Regions from separate parts of the Homo sapiens genome. Here region 1 is linked to region 2. Evidence: promoter capture Hi-C in 16 types of primary human blood cells and fetal thymus (Javierre and others, 2016). All regions are on one chromosome and are shown on one strand. The core of a region is centred on a gene start or on the middle of the fragment in contact, and the rest is flanking DNA. Distances in the headings are between cores, read along the strand shown.

Region 1 (7,606 bases), core at 1,877-4,376, 530 kb before region 2:
CATGCACACATATGTTTATTGCAGGACTATTCACAATAGCAAAGACTCGCAACCAACCCAAATGCCCATCAATAATAGACTGTATCAAAAAAATGTGAGACATACACCATGGAATACTATGCAGCCATAAAAAAGGGTGAGTTCATGTCCTCTGCAGGGACATGGATGAAGCTGGAAGCCATCATTCTCAGCAAACTATCACAGGAACAGAAAACCAAACACTGCATGTTCTCACTCATAAGTGAGAGTTGAACAATGAGAACACATGGACACAGGGAAGGGAACATCACACACCAGGTTCCGTCAGTGGGTAGGGGGCTAGGGGAGGGATAGCATTAGGAGAAATACCCAATGTAGATGATGGTTGATGGGTGCTGCAAATCACCATAGCACGGTATGCCTGCGTAACAAACCTTCACGTTCTGCACATCTATCCCAGAACTTAAATTATAATAATAATAAATTACTTGTTTTCCAATTTGAATGTATTTTATTTATTTTTCTTGCCTTAGTGCACTAACTAGATCCTCCTGTACAATGTTGAAAAGAGCAAATGAAGTTTTCTTGTTCCTTACCTTAGGAGAAAAGCATTTAACCCATAACACAAATATGATATTGTATGTAGGTTTTTATAAGTTCCTGTCTTTTTCTAATGTGCTGAGAGTTTTTATCAGAAATAGATGTTAAATCCGATTGTCTTAGTTTTTTTCTGCATCTATTTAGATTACTGTATATTTTTTCTTTTTAATCTGTTAACATGGTAAATTATATTGATAAATTTCAAATGTTAAACCACTTTTGCATTTTATGGGATAATACATATTTGGTAATGATGCGTTATGCTTTTTCCATATTGTTGGATTCTGTTTTTTTTTTTACATTTAGTTAAGAATTATTATATCTTATGTTCATGCAAAATATCGGTCTCTGATTTTATTTTATTTTATTTATTTTTGAGACGAATTTCACTCTTGTTACCCAGGCTGGAGTGCAATAGTGCGATCTCAGCTCACTTCAATCTCCGCCTCCTGGGTTCAAGTGATTCTTCTGCCTCAGCCTCCGGAGTAGCAGGGATTAAAAGCGCGTGCCACCATACCTGGCTAATTTTTGTATTTTTAGTAGAGATGGGATTTCACCATGCTGGCCAAGATATTCTTGATCTCCTGACCTTGTGATCCACCTGCCTCGGCCTCCCAAAGTGCTGGGATTATAGGCGTGAGCCACCGTGTCCAGCCGGTTTTCTTTTCTTAAAATGCTTTTTTTGTTTGTTTGTTTTAGTGTCAGAGTAATGCTAGCATCATTAACTGATTAGGAAAGTATTCCATACTTTTCAATTTTTGGAAGAGTTTGTATAGAATTAGCATAACTTTTTCTATCAATTATTGAGAGTGGGATATTGAAACCTTAAACTATTTTTTGAATATGTGTCTCCTTGCAGCTTTATCTATTTTCGTTTCATGTATTTTGAAGCTCTGTTACTACTTGCATAAATACTTCACAATGCTATATCCTCTTGATGAACTGACCCTTCTGGATGGTGAAGAAAAATAAAATATTCTTGGCCTAACCTGAGCTCCAAGAATTGTTCCCCTTAGTCCTTCCAGAGGTTCATTCTTCAGTTTCGAGTAGATTTCACCCACACGTGTGCAGATGAGTTCTCTCCTGAAACACTTGAGAAAGACCTGATAGAAATTGCCAGAGTTTTCTCCCCATGCAGCTCTCCCCTCGCTCATGCTCTGTGAACCCTAGCTGCTTTTGTCTGGGAACTCTCAGCTGTCTCCTCAACTCTACAAGAATGCCAGACGCTGCCTGTGTTTCTTATGGCTCACCTAGGTCTAGGAGATTTAACTGATTACTTAATCTTTTATCTAAAACAAACCATACTAATTTGTACAAATACCTTTAATTCTGTGTGAAATTATTTTTATATTCTTTATTTAAGAAAATGTGATGTTGTATCTCTGTCTTAAATCATCAAAAATATAATGACAGAAAAATTAAAAGAAAGAATAACAGAGGAAACATATGGATAACACTTGAATTAATTCACCATTCCAGTGTCAGGAAGATAGTTTCTGCAAACATTTAAAAAATCTATGTATTCTGACGAGTTGATGTCTTGTGATGGTTTTACAAGAAGAATCAAATATAAATATCATGTTGTAAAAGATTAATATGCATGCATCTGCTTTAAATAGAACAAGGCTAAAGAACATTTTGTTCTTGTTACTGCTTCTCAATAAGTTTGGTAGTTCAGTTTAACTCAGGTAAGCTTTCTAAATGTCTAGCATCTTGTCCAAGCTCATAACAAAGATGTTCAAATGCCTTGGCACCCTCCTATTATTATTCCTTCCTGCTCTCCTCATAACCTTTTATTTTCTCATTTTTCATTTAACCATTCCTGGACCTCACTCTCATCTTGCAATATCTAATAAGCCTTTACTAAGGACTGAACATGTGAGGGCCAGATTTGTGAACTGGACTTTTCTCTCTGTAGATTTTTCAATTAGGTTTTCACAATGCCCTAGTTTCACTGAGTCAGTAAAACTCCCAGATGTTTCCATTCTTTATGTATCTCTCCTTGTATCCCTCATCTCTGTCATAATTTTAGAGACCCTCTTGACATTTAAAAAATTTGGAAACAACAGTTTCTTATTTCTGCCTAAGAAGACTTAAGATATTTCTGTAAAGATTTGGTTGGACACATATAGACATTTATTCCAAATTAAATCAGTGGTCTTCTTCAGATTGAGTTCCAAGCTGTAAACTTCAAAGGATAAGTTCTGCTTTACTAACTGTAATGCCAAACCAATTATTTTATAAAAACAATTAAATTGTCATGAACATAAGATTTCATATCCTGAAAGAATAGGAATAAGTTCTATTTTCACAATTAGTTTTCTATGTATAGTCCTCAACCACAATGCCTGTGAACCACCATCCTGGGAAATAAACTTTTCTTGAGATCTCAAAGCAAATGAAGACAAGTAACCAGCATGGCACAAATGCTTCTCTGCTACTACGTGGATTCTTTTATAGACACTGATTATATATTAAGATATTAATTTTATCCATTTACACTCATCAAAAAAGAAATATATGGTCCACATACTTAAATTCAACTTCTTTCTTAGAGGCAATGGACTAAGTACAATCACAAGCAATAGACAAACATCATAACTTTAATTTTTGGCTGTAAAAATGGAATAAAAACAGTAATTGTATTCATCATCGCTTGATGAAGTCTTTAAAATGTTACTTTTATTCTAGGAAGAATGTAGGCAACCTCTAAAGGGTTGATGTGGCAAGAAAGACACTGATATTTTTTCTGGGAAAAAAATACCTTGGCTCTGAACGAAAAAGAATATTGCTGAAATTATAGTTAGGAGCCTAGTTCTCCTATTGTTAGAGCTCTTTTAGGACATTTTATGATATTTTCTACAAGCACAGGACTGTGGCTATTTAGCTTGGTTTCTATTATGCCTTTCTTGGCATCATGTAGGATAACTAGCACATCTTATAGGACACCAGTGAAAGACAAAATAGACAACACAAAAATCGTATGGCATTCCTCAAACTGTTTTATGTGAAAAAGAAAGGCTGTCTTATACTATTCAAATCCCTAGACGAATATGTCAAAATAAGAGTACGAGAGGAAGGGGTTATTTCAAGGATATCCCACATATAGACAACATGGTGCATTGTGACATCGTTATATAAATATTAATAGTGCCAGAATACTAATCCCTTCATCGGGGAGGAAATATTCTAAATTCACTTACCTCTTGCAGCACTTTCCTACATAGTACTGTAGACACAGCCCATTGGCATCCTAGAGATGGCATTCTGAAGAGAAAGCAGGATCTCAACTCCTCTCAAGGTGTTCCTCCCTCCCTTGAAGGTCAGGATGTCTTGTGCTGGCACATCCTTTGGTGGGTCAGTAGATGGCAGTGTGTCTGAATCTAGTATGTATGGTAGGGGAAAGCTTTTTAGCATTTCCCAAGAAAATGAAGGTTTTGAAAGCTGTGAGGCAGCATGGGGCCTAGTGCATGGGCCAGAAGACTTGATCTTTATTTCTGGCTCAACTCCTGAATACATTTACTTGAGTAAATGGACACCAGCCACTTAACTTTTGTGTTCTTTGCTTTCTTGAACTTGAAATTAGACAAAATACTCTGCCTCTTCCCATCTCCCTCACAAGGACCCTGTGAGTTTAATCAGACTTCAGATTAGTTTCCGTTCTTTGAAGAAAAGACTCCTTATGAATTTGCTATGCTATTTATAATGTCAGTGGCAAAATTGATCTGGGTTGTTCTTCTGGGACTTGAAGTAAATAAACACAGAGGCATTTGGCAAGAAGGATCTTCTGTATTTCTGTGCCATAAAATGTTGGTGTATTTTGGTTTTAAGTAGCAGCACTGGATCTCAGGATGCAAAATTATTCTTGTTACTTGGAATTAAAATAACTTCCTCCATTCCATGGAACTTGACAATTACGGAAGGAAGCCAATAGGCCTCTGGCACCTTCCCAATTTAAATTTAAACTGTTCACTGCAAGTACAGATTCAATCAGATACAATCATTTTCACTTTTCCCTGCTATTAAACATAAGAATTTTCACTTCAGCATTTTACTACAAAGGTGGCACTCTGATAAATGTTAAATGAAATGGTAAGTAGGAAATACCATTGAAGGGTTGAAAGATGATTCTTTTTCCCAACAAGATCCAGCTGTGCATGAATTCACTGGAAGTTAGAATAGTTAGAATCCTCAACCAAAACATACCTTCAGCTGCATGGCACCAAAATGGGTCATGACAAGATCATGTTGGGGCAAAACAAACTTTAACATCTCACCTGTCAACCTGGCTCTGGTCACGATCAAAGCTAAGCTTCTTTGAAGAAGCCTTGCTACTTTGAGGCTGGTAACAAGGATCAAAAAGGGATACAATAAATAATACTATTTCTGGACAGGTAGATTCTGATAGGGAGGTCTAGCGTATTTCTAATACAGATGCCTACCTCATCTGGTCTTCTTGGAAACAAAAAATTATATTGTGTAGGATAGCCAGAAATCTACCTGCTATATAAAAAGATAAAATTGTAAAATGAAATGGATGTCATGTTTGAACACATGCCATACCATCATTTTTAGGTAGCAGCCTTTCAGGATATAGACAAATATATTTGGGATGGTTTCTGGGTGTATAATCCATTGGAAAAGCTATTTTAATATAAAAATTCACTGTCAAAATATTAATAAACAACTAGTCTTTTTTCAAATCTCTTGTGCAATAAACATAGATTCAAGACAAGTGATTTTTGTCGTGTCATCTTATTTGTAAGACATGTCTCTCTAGTTGGATAGTGATTGGCTTGTTGGTTTGAACGTCAGGAGGTTAAAATCTTAATTTAAATATGCATTAGTATTAAAATATGTTCAAGAGAATGTCACATCAACCTCAACCTCAAAGTACCAATTATGTTGTTTGGGTTCCACATTTGACACTGTTCTGACTAAACTGATATCCCCCGTTCAGAATTTCTAAAAATGCCTCAGATCTCAGTTTCATAATACATTCTATGTAAAGTAGAAACATTAAGAAAAACTGAATTATAGAAACATAATTTCATAGTTTCAAGGACATAGAAGTCAAAGCATACTGCTTGAAGCTAATGAACAATTATAAAGATGTAGAAGCCAGCACATTATTAGCATTAGGTTAGAAGAAATAGACAATTCTGTAACCACTCAACAGGATGGATTCAAAACAAAGAAATTGTTAAGTTTGGAGTTTAATTATAAACACTAATTTGTAACTTGGATGAGAACAGTAACTGTTTTTAATCCTTAGCCAGTGTTTTATTTTTTTCCCTGAAGCCGCTTATTGAAGAAAATAAATGACGCAGGAAAAGCAAGGGGAATAACTAATAACCAACATTTTATGCATATATATGTGTAGAACTTAAGTGAGAAAAAAACTGATGGCACCATAGTCAATTTAAATAAGATAAAACGTATCAATCAAGCAGTCAACCATAAATCTCTAAGAAACAAGAAGCCCATGTACAAATTCACGGAAACATGGTAATTGATCTTTGTTGATAACGTTGAAGCACTTTGTGATTCAGAAAAAAAAACAAATTTGGAAGTTATCGTATACATAATATGGTTTTACACATAATATTATGTATATTTTATTACATTTTATATTTTTAGATATTATTCATACCCAATTTGTGGCAATCCTGTGAATCCGATCATTGGTAAGTTAGAATAGTTCTTTCCAGGTAATTATTTTTAATTTACTATTTTCAAATAATTTTAAACTTTGGTAAAGTGGTTTGCAGAGATAGTTGCTCTGACAGGCTGTAAATCGGTTTAGTAGCTACCTAACAGCATGGAATATAAGAATGTGCTCGGCGTGTTAACTGTATACATCAATTTCTTAAAAGCTAAAATATCTATATAAAAATAAGGTGCTTTAGGAAAAGAAGGCCATTGGAAGACCCATGAAAATGGTAATTGACTTTCTGAACCAGAAAAGTAAAGCGATAACATAAAGGAAAGAAACAAGATGACAAAAGGTATCATAAAGTATTACACTTGAGTGCTCTCAGTTACATAGATGGCGGTTCCTGAATCATCCTGATTTTGTGAAACAAGTGGAAAATGGATAAAAAAAAGACTGCCTCTCTGTAGACTGATAAGATCCCAACTGTTAAGAAGTGAAAAGTTTCCCAACTTATGCAAATGAAGAATTGCAACAAGTTGGCCAGAAAGGTGATGGTATCTATCAGTCAGGGATCTTTCTGCTCTAAGTGATTGACAATTCAACTTAAATTGGATTAATAAAACTGAGGTATTATTGGCTATAATGTAAACAAGTAGTTCAGTTTAATTAGAAACTAAAATTCTAATGATTAGAATTTCTCTTTACACTGCCCCTTGCCCTCTGGGCTAGCTCAGCCCTTTGAATAGTGCCTCTCAACGGATGTACAAGAGCAGCAGCAAGCAGCAACCTTTACATTCTTCTACCACCCACTTCAGGGAGGCTGTTGTCTCACAGGCCTAACAATTGTTCTAAGGATCACACCTCTGGGGCTGGACTAAATTACTGGTCAATATCTGTAGCAATCCTGATGGCCAGGAAAATATAATGTGCCTATTGGCTGAAGCCTGCATACATCCATTGATTAGTGAACTCATCCAATAAATAATCAACGTGTTAGAACCTTTCTTTGACCCCAATCACTGTGGCCAAGAGTGTGAGCTGTGCGAATAAACCCTAGGCAGTACCATCAAAATTGCATAACCAATAATGCGAAACTAGTAGTTTCCCAAAAGCAGATGGGATATTATTTAAAGGAAGGAAAATAATAAATGCTGAAAAGAAAGCAACTCCAGGGAAAAATTCCCAGCTGTTTTCTTGATTCTATACATATATAGAGTGGATAAGTTCAAGGAGGCTGAACAAAGAGAGAGAATGCATTTCAATATTCCTAATGCAGGTTCAGCAAAAAGGGATATATGTAAGGAGCTATTAAGTTCATCAATAAAGTGATCTAGTCTTATAAACAAGGTCATATCAAGTTTTTTGAGTCTG
Region 2 (7,554 bases), core at 4,956-7,455:
TGATTATTTGGAAGATTCTATTTGAAATGCTGAGTAGGTGGTTGTGCGATTTGCAGAAAGGGTAAATTGGAAGAGGAACATCTTTGGGGGAAGATGATGAGTTTAGCTTCGGGCATAATCAGTTTGAGATAATTAAAGAAGACCAATAGGCAGCTAAAGAGGGATGTTGGGAAATCAGAAGAGTGGTTTGGACTTGAGAATATGAGGTAGGAAAAGGTAGTCTATAGATGAAACTTAAGCTATGGGAATGGATGAGATGGTTCAAAGACAGCATCTCTTGAGTAAGGCTGAAAGGCTGAGAATCAATCCCTGAGAAATCTCCATTTTCCTCTCCATCAATTGACTATGTGGATCAGTGGTTAATACTAAAGGAGATGGGCTCAAGGGGTATACTTGCTCTGAAAATGCCCTTCATTACCGTAAAGAAAGGAACCACTGCTAAGAAGCCTTGCATCCTGTGTTCATTTATAGAATGAGACTCTGAGGAAAGATGATTGCTATTAAAACAGTCACTTATCAATCCTGAAGATTATTCTCCCAAATACACTGTGTATTTTTCACTAACAATTCCTTTCATTGTCTAGCCGATTATTCATTTCAAGCTGTAACTATCTGGAAATAATGGGATTTGCTGATTAATGCCTTAAAATGAAAATCATCTCTAGAAATAGGTATGTTTTCATAACTCCAAAACTGACCAAAACCACATAAGGAGTATTTTCACCATGGTGCTGTCCATCTCAGAGGTGACTGAGCTATGAGAAAAAAAAGAAGAAAAAGTGTATGTAGAAGAAAAAGTCATCTCCACTGGGAATCCAGCCTTGCAAAGATTTATTACAGAAGAAAGTAGTTAAGTGATTCTCTTTCTTTCACCCAAACACAGGGTACCTACCTCCAGCATGAAAACTTAGATAAATGAGTGAACTTACTCAGAAGAACATGTTTAGAGATTAGGGATGTTTAAAGATCAGGGATTACAGAATTCATACAACTCACAGAAACTTTTGCTCTTCTTTTGGGAAAAGGCAGTTAATAGAAATGTCTCCTTGATCCCTGAATCACAAATACTTGTGAAAATCAATAATATTTTCCCCTAAGTCTTGAAAATTTTCAAAAAAAAGTCAATAAATATTTGCTAAGATGTCTATGATATGCCAGGTTCTATGCTTGACACTGAGGCTAAAATAATAAACAAAAATTAGGCTGGGTGCACTGCCTGTAATCCCAGCACTTTGGGAGGCAGAGGTGGGTGGGTCACCTGAGGTCAGAAGTTCGAGACCAGCCTAGCCAACATGGTAAACCCCATCTCCACGAAAAATACAAAAATTAGCCAGGCATGGTGGCAGGCACCTGTTATCCCAGCTACTCAGGAGGCTGAGGCTGGAGAATTGCTTGAACCCGGGAGGTGGAGGTTGCAGTGAGCCGAGATCGTGCCATTGCACTCTAGCGACAAGAACAAAACTCTGCCAAACGAACAAACAAACAAACAAACAAAAGAAGTGCCCAAAGTCCTCATGGAGTTATATGTATGATTTAGGATAGAAAATTTACACAAATAACCATATTAAAATAAAAAATAGAACCTCTTCCAATCTATGATAGGTGTTATGATCAGGAGGTAAGTGACATTATTTATGCCATGTATTGATGTCTTGAATACACAGCCATTAATGTCACAGCTCCCTCTTAGCTTTGTGGTATTGGGCAAGTTATCTCTGAAAAGTGGGACTAAGTTATACTAATTGTAATAATTTAATAAGGCTGTTGTGGAGAATAAATGAGAAGATACTAAGTGCTGACACACAGTAAAGACCTCCTTGAAAGCTAGCTGTTATTAGAAAAGCAAATAATCAGAAGAATGCAAGCCAGTCAGTGTCAATAAATGCTTCCATAGGGCAGTGACATCTGACTGCATCATAAAAAGTTAGGCATGGGTTGAAGAGAAGAGCATTCTGATAAGAGGAAATAGAGTGAGATGGGAAATGTGCAGACATGGAAATTAGGAAAGAGTCTGCATCAAGAGCTTAGCACTCCACTCCACAATGTTAATGCACTCCACGAGGAGGCTGGATAGGTAAGGAGGCCACAGAGAATAACATTTGTTGGTCGTGTTAAAGGCCAACACGGGAAAGCTATTGCTTTGTTTTAAATAGAGGTGTAACTTACATGCCCCCAGAATTGTCTGGCTCCAACAGTGGTGGCTCCAAAATACTTTTGTGAGAAGAGCTTATGGATGATTATCTGGTTGAGGTAGGGGAGATTCAAGAGAAGTAAAGGAATTGTTTTGAACTGTGTGTTTTTGTTTTGTTTTGTTTTAGATTCCACTATTTGATCTAGATATACGTTTACTAGGGTTGACTGAAAACACATTGTGTTTAGCTACTTTTCGGCTTCAGGGGATCAAGTCAGGTTAGGTAGTAAAAAAGACTCACAGATTGAGCTACTCCTTTAAGTCTTTCGTTTCAGTGACCTCGCAGACATCACTGCTCATTGCCTGTTGCTGTCCAGCATAAATTATCCCAGGTTCTTAGCAGGGGCACTAATTGACTCTAACAGCTTTACTGAAGGTGAGGATACTCATGAGCTGCCCTAATCCTCACATAAATTATATAGGCTGGACAGACTTTTACAGTCTTGATTTGATTATTTATAGGTTTTGTACTTTATATGGAGTTAAAGAAAAATTATATGGGTTATGATTTTTATTCCCTGGACTTTTATCCTTTACTCTGTATCATGATTCTATGTCTCTATAAAGGAATATACCAATAAAATTATTATACATGCAGGAAAAATGTATTTCTTGCTCATTCATTGGCAAGAACTGGGCTTAGCCCTTTGTAAACCCATTTCATTCTTTCAAAGACTCTATGTGGATGGTGTTTTTAATTCCTTTTTACATATAAGGAATTTGTGCCACAAAAAGGTTAAGATAATTTCCAAATGATCACTGAGCTTATGACAGACCTATCTTCACCTCAAACTTGTTCCCTTGAATACTGAGCATACTGCCAAACTACACTCAAAATGTAAATCCCTGTGTATTATTCCGAGACAATATCTGAAACTGGGCAATTTACAAAAGAAAGAGGTTTAGTGGACTTACAGTTCCACATGGCTGGGGAGGCCTTACAATCATAATAGAAGACAAGAAGGAGCAAGTCACATTTTACATGGAGGGCAACAGGCAAAGAGAGAGAGCTTGTGTAGGGAAACTCCCATTTTTAAAACCATCAGATTTCATGAGACTTATTCACTGTTACAAGAGCAGCATAGGAAAGACCTGTCCCCGTGATTCAGTTATCTCCCGCAGGGTCCCTGCCACAACACGTGGTAATTATGGGAGCTACAAGATGAGATTTGGGTGGGGACACAGAGACAAACAATATCACCCTCAAAATGTGTTTTCTCAAATAAACCAGCTGATTGCAAATGAGAATAGCCCTAACCTTAATCACTTATCTCAAATAAACACTTCCGGTCAGTGGCATATACCTCTTCTGTAGAAGAAAGTAACAAACATTCCCATTTACTGTATTTGGTGTCAACCTATAATAATTATTTTCTCCGTAATTTATGGCTGACAAATTCAGAAAGGAGAGGAATCACATTAAGTTTTATTTTAGTTTGCTAAAGAGCTTGGAAAAAGTGCACAAACCTAAAAAATTCAGGAAATTCTTTTGGCCTTTGTTCCTGGCACCCAATGCTTTGTTAGCACCTATGCCAGAAATTTTAGAAATTGACATGAGCTAACAAATTAGAAGACATCCTGAGGCATCTAGAAGACAATGCTTCATTATTTAACACTATATACACAGGGAAAAGACAGCTTAAGCATAATTAATAGCCAGTGTTTTGCTCTGAAGGGTGCAAAGCGATGACATGCCATCACACTATCTTGACTCCACAAATCTCCATTCCTCAGACATTAAGTCATATCTTGTTTCACCCTGCCCATGTGGACTTGAAATGCTATCAGTGCTTTTATGAACAGTTTTTTTGTGGAAGCCTGATGTCTGGCAATGGAGTATCTGCCATGGATTTTTCTCTATTATTTTCCCAGAAAGGAAGTTGTGTTTATTTTGTTGAGTAATTGTCATAGACCTGGGTCTGAACAACTAGATGAGAACATTACAAAGAAGCAACGCTATTTAAAATTCTGAGCTGGGACTTCATTTTATTCCCATCACAGCAGACTCTCAGTGCTAAAAGCACCAAAGTAAGCTGTACATGTCTCTACAGGATTGCAAAGGAACTAAACAGAAAGGAAGGGAAAGGGAGGGACTTTCTTAATTACATTACAATCATCATGACCTTCATTATTATTGATGAATTATCCTCTGTTGGTATGAGGAGAGAAAGAATAAGAAGAAAGTAATATGAGAGAATGAAAGATTTATTGGAAATTGATGAAATTAATCAGGTTTGAAAAAAGCACTGTTGTTTTGTTTTGTTTTTTTCTTTCACGAGAATATCTTCTCCCTTGGAAGAAGCTCTGGGAAGTCTCTGAAGTGCTCCAGAGTTCCATCTTCTCTCTGTGGAGGGAGAAAAGTGGTATTGGAATGGGCCAGCTCAGATACAAGAGCCTGCATCAGGGCTCTTAGGAGGCCTAGAAATACAAAGGGATAGGCTACAGAGAATGGTCTGTAGACTAGCCCCATGCAAGTAGACCATATTACACAAAAGAAAAGGCAAAGGAGATGACTTCCAACGAGAATCCATATATAATTTCATGCAAATATAATTATTTAGTGCATATTTAATTTTATATACACACTCAATTTATTCTTTGACAATTCCATCATCATTGTATATTCTGAAAAGTACTTAATAGGGAGATGGGGTAAGAGCAGGGTGGTAGGTACAAAAAGAGCTTATACCTTCTCTTCTAATAAATACATGGGCTTCTTAGGCTCAAGAGGGAGTGATATTGTACATTGCTCCCCAGGACCATTAAAAGATTCAGGATAAAACATCTAGGCTCTTTAAATGAACTACAGTAATGATCTACCACCTACATAGAATTAGAGATGAGCTGTGGTCAGCAGGGAGTACTGAGAGAACAGGTACAAGGGACACAAAAACGTAGACAGAAGAGACATAAGCTAGAGCCATGCATAAAGGAATGGAGTCTGAGGCTAAAATGATAGGAACCCTATTATCAACTGACAAGACAAGTGAAGAAAATCATAACTGAATTCAAGATACAGGGCCTATTTGGACATTAGGTTGAATCATTCCACCTTACCTTAGTGCAAACCCATCTTTGAGGCAAGTTGAGGGTCTTCTTCACAGAGATGCTTGATAAATTTGCAGCAAGACTTGGGTCCTTTTCCAGTAACAAGGTCAATCAAGACTCGAGCCTTATCCATGACAGTGTCATTTTCATCTCTCACTTTGTTCATGTCTTCCTGGCTAATAACTTCATCCTCTAATAGGCAATCCAGCAAGGCATTTATTGTGCCTGCACCCACTGAATGGATAAAAATTCTTCTCTTTTTACGCAAGAGTTGGTCTGTTGGAAGCACAAAGATTCCTCAAATAATGAACATGACACAATTTCCCTCTCAATTTACCAACAGGGTAACAATCATTTAAACATTTCTCTCCACAAGTACAGTAATCCCAAGGAACGGTCTTATACCTTTGCATTTACTCCACGTACTTCCTTCTGATTCTAGCATTACCTACATATGCTCACTGAGTGACCTGGGAAACTTGACTTCATGATTTTTCTGTGAATCTCCTAAAAATCAGAAGTCATTCTATTCTGACACATCCCAGTTTCTTGAATTTTGAAGGGAATTGACAGTTTCATGAATTTTGAAGGGAATTGACTGTTTCCTTTGAGAACAACAGCTACTGATACCCATCCTGTGCCCATTCTCATCCTGAACTACATAACTCTTCAAATGTGGACAACACTAGCAAAATTATAGCAGATACCAGTAGGATCCCAGATTCTTCCTGGCCTTTATCTGTTCCTTCAAAAACGCTGTGCAAGTCTGGGCATCTTCCCACCCTGCCTCTCCCTTCTTCTTTCTCTCTCCACCCCAAGGCTGCCCACACAAACCTTCACAAAGCCTAATGAGAAAGGCAGTCCTTTCCCAAACTAATTCCTCCCTAAGACCTATCCTCTTACTGGGGAAGACTCACCAGCCATGGCTCCTCACGTTGGCACTTGCAATGTGTGTTACACTTGCAATGACAGGCAAGGTAGCTCTATCCTTTTAGGCAGGGCGTGTACACAGATCAATGAACAATACTTACACCTACACATGTGTATTTATAATTATTGCCCAAGAAGCTGTTAACTATTGTCATTTCCCAAGGTATTTTTACACAATTGAATCTCAGATTGTAGCATGAACTGTGCCCATAAGAAAATTGCTTTACCATTCCTTGGTGGGTGAGAAACAAGAATAGGAGAGAATTGAGAAGGCACACACAGAGCTAAACACATGCAGTAAACAATCTTTAATTCACTGAGATTTAAATGGAAAGTAAAATCACAGTATAGGGTAGTTGTGCCACCTAAATCAAGTACTAAGAGTTCCTTTTTTAAATTGTGGTAAAATACACATAATATAAAATTTACCATCTTAGCCATTTTACAGTATCCAGTTCAGTGGCATTAAGTACATTCACATTGCTGTGTAGCCATCAATATCATCCAACTGTAGTTGTTTTCATTTTGGGAAATTGAAACTCTATACTCCTTAAACAGTAACTCTCTATCCTTTCCTTCCATCAGTCCCTGGCAACTAACATTGTACTTTCTGTCTTTATGAATTTGACTTCTCTAGGTATCTCATGTAAGTAGAATTATACAGTATTCATTTTTTGATGCCTGACTTATTTCACTTAGTGTAATGTCCTCGGTGTTTATTCATGTTGTGGCATGGGTCACAATTTCCTTTCTTTCTGAAGTTGAATAATACTCCATTCTATGTATGTACCACATTTTAGTTTACCCATTCTTCATTGAGCACAAATTTCTTCCCTTTTGCTATTGTAAATAACACTGCTATGAACATGGTATACAAATATGTTTTTGAGATTCTGCTGTCAATTATTTGAATATATACCCAGAAGTGGAACTGACAAATCATAGAGTAATTCTATTTCATTTTGTTTTGTGAAATCGGTATGCTGTTTTCCATAGCAGCTGCACTGTATTACATTCCCACATATAAAGCAGAAGCGTTCCAGTTTTTCCATGTCCTCACCAATACATATTATTTTTCTGTTCTTTTGATAATAGCCATCCTAATGGGTGTGAGATGGACTAAGACTTCTTACCTTCCTTTCATTGTTTTTTACCTAAGCTCTAGGCAGTCTCCAGACGCAGAAATGGTGTATGAAGCAGTTTTGCTATTTGGAATAAAAGTGCTTTGTTACGTAAGGCTCTTTTTCTTCAGATGGCACCATTTTAAGTAACACTGTATTACAAAGATTAAGGGCACAGACTCTGAAGCCAGAATGGTTGGATCCATATTTTAACTGCTGATCTTAGGAAAGGAAATTAACCAAGCTTTAGTCTTCCCATCTGCC

Evidence for each region. The method cuts DNA at HindIII sites, captures the fragments that hold promoters and counts their contacts. A CHiCAGO score of 5 or more calls a contact.
Region 1: a fragment that was not itself captured here is called in contact with the fragment with the promoter of CARD18 in region 2 in 3 of 17 cell types (total CD4 T cells, activated CD4 T cells and non-activated CD4 T cells); the score reaches 7.7 in total CD4 T cells.

Annotation. Positions count from the first base shown.
Region 1 is chr11:104,605,455-104,613,060 of GRCh38, forward strand. LINC02552 (long intergenic non-protein coding RNA 2552) reads right to left here and starts at 3,848. Exons shown (of 4, transcript NR_120585.1): 1 at 3,783-3,848. The HindIII fragment of the contact is 1,713 bases long and covers 2,271-3,983 here.
Region 2 is chr11:105,133,564-105,141,117 of GRCh38, forward strand. It overlaps CARD18 (caspase recruitment domain family member 18), which reads right to left and starts at 6,206. Exons shown (of 3, transcript NM_021571.4): 1 at 6,157-6,206; 2 at 5,249-5,515; 3 at 4,151-4,535. The coding sequence starts at 6,163. The coding sequence ends at 5,250. The HindIII fragment of the contact is 11,660 bases long and covers 1-7,532 here.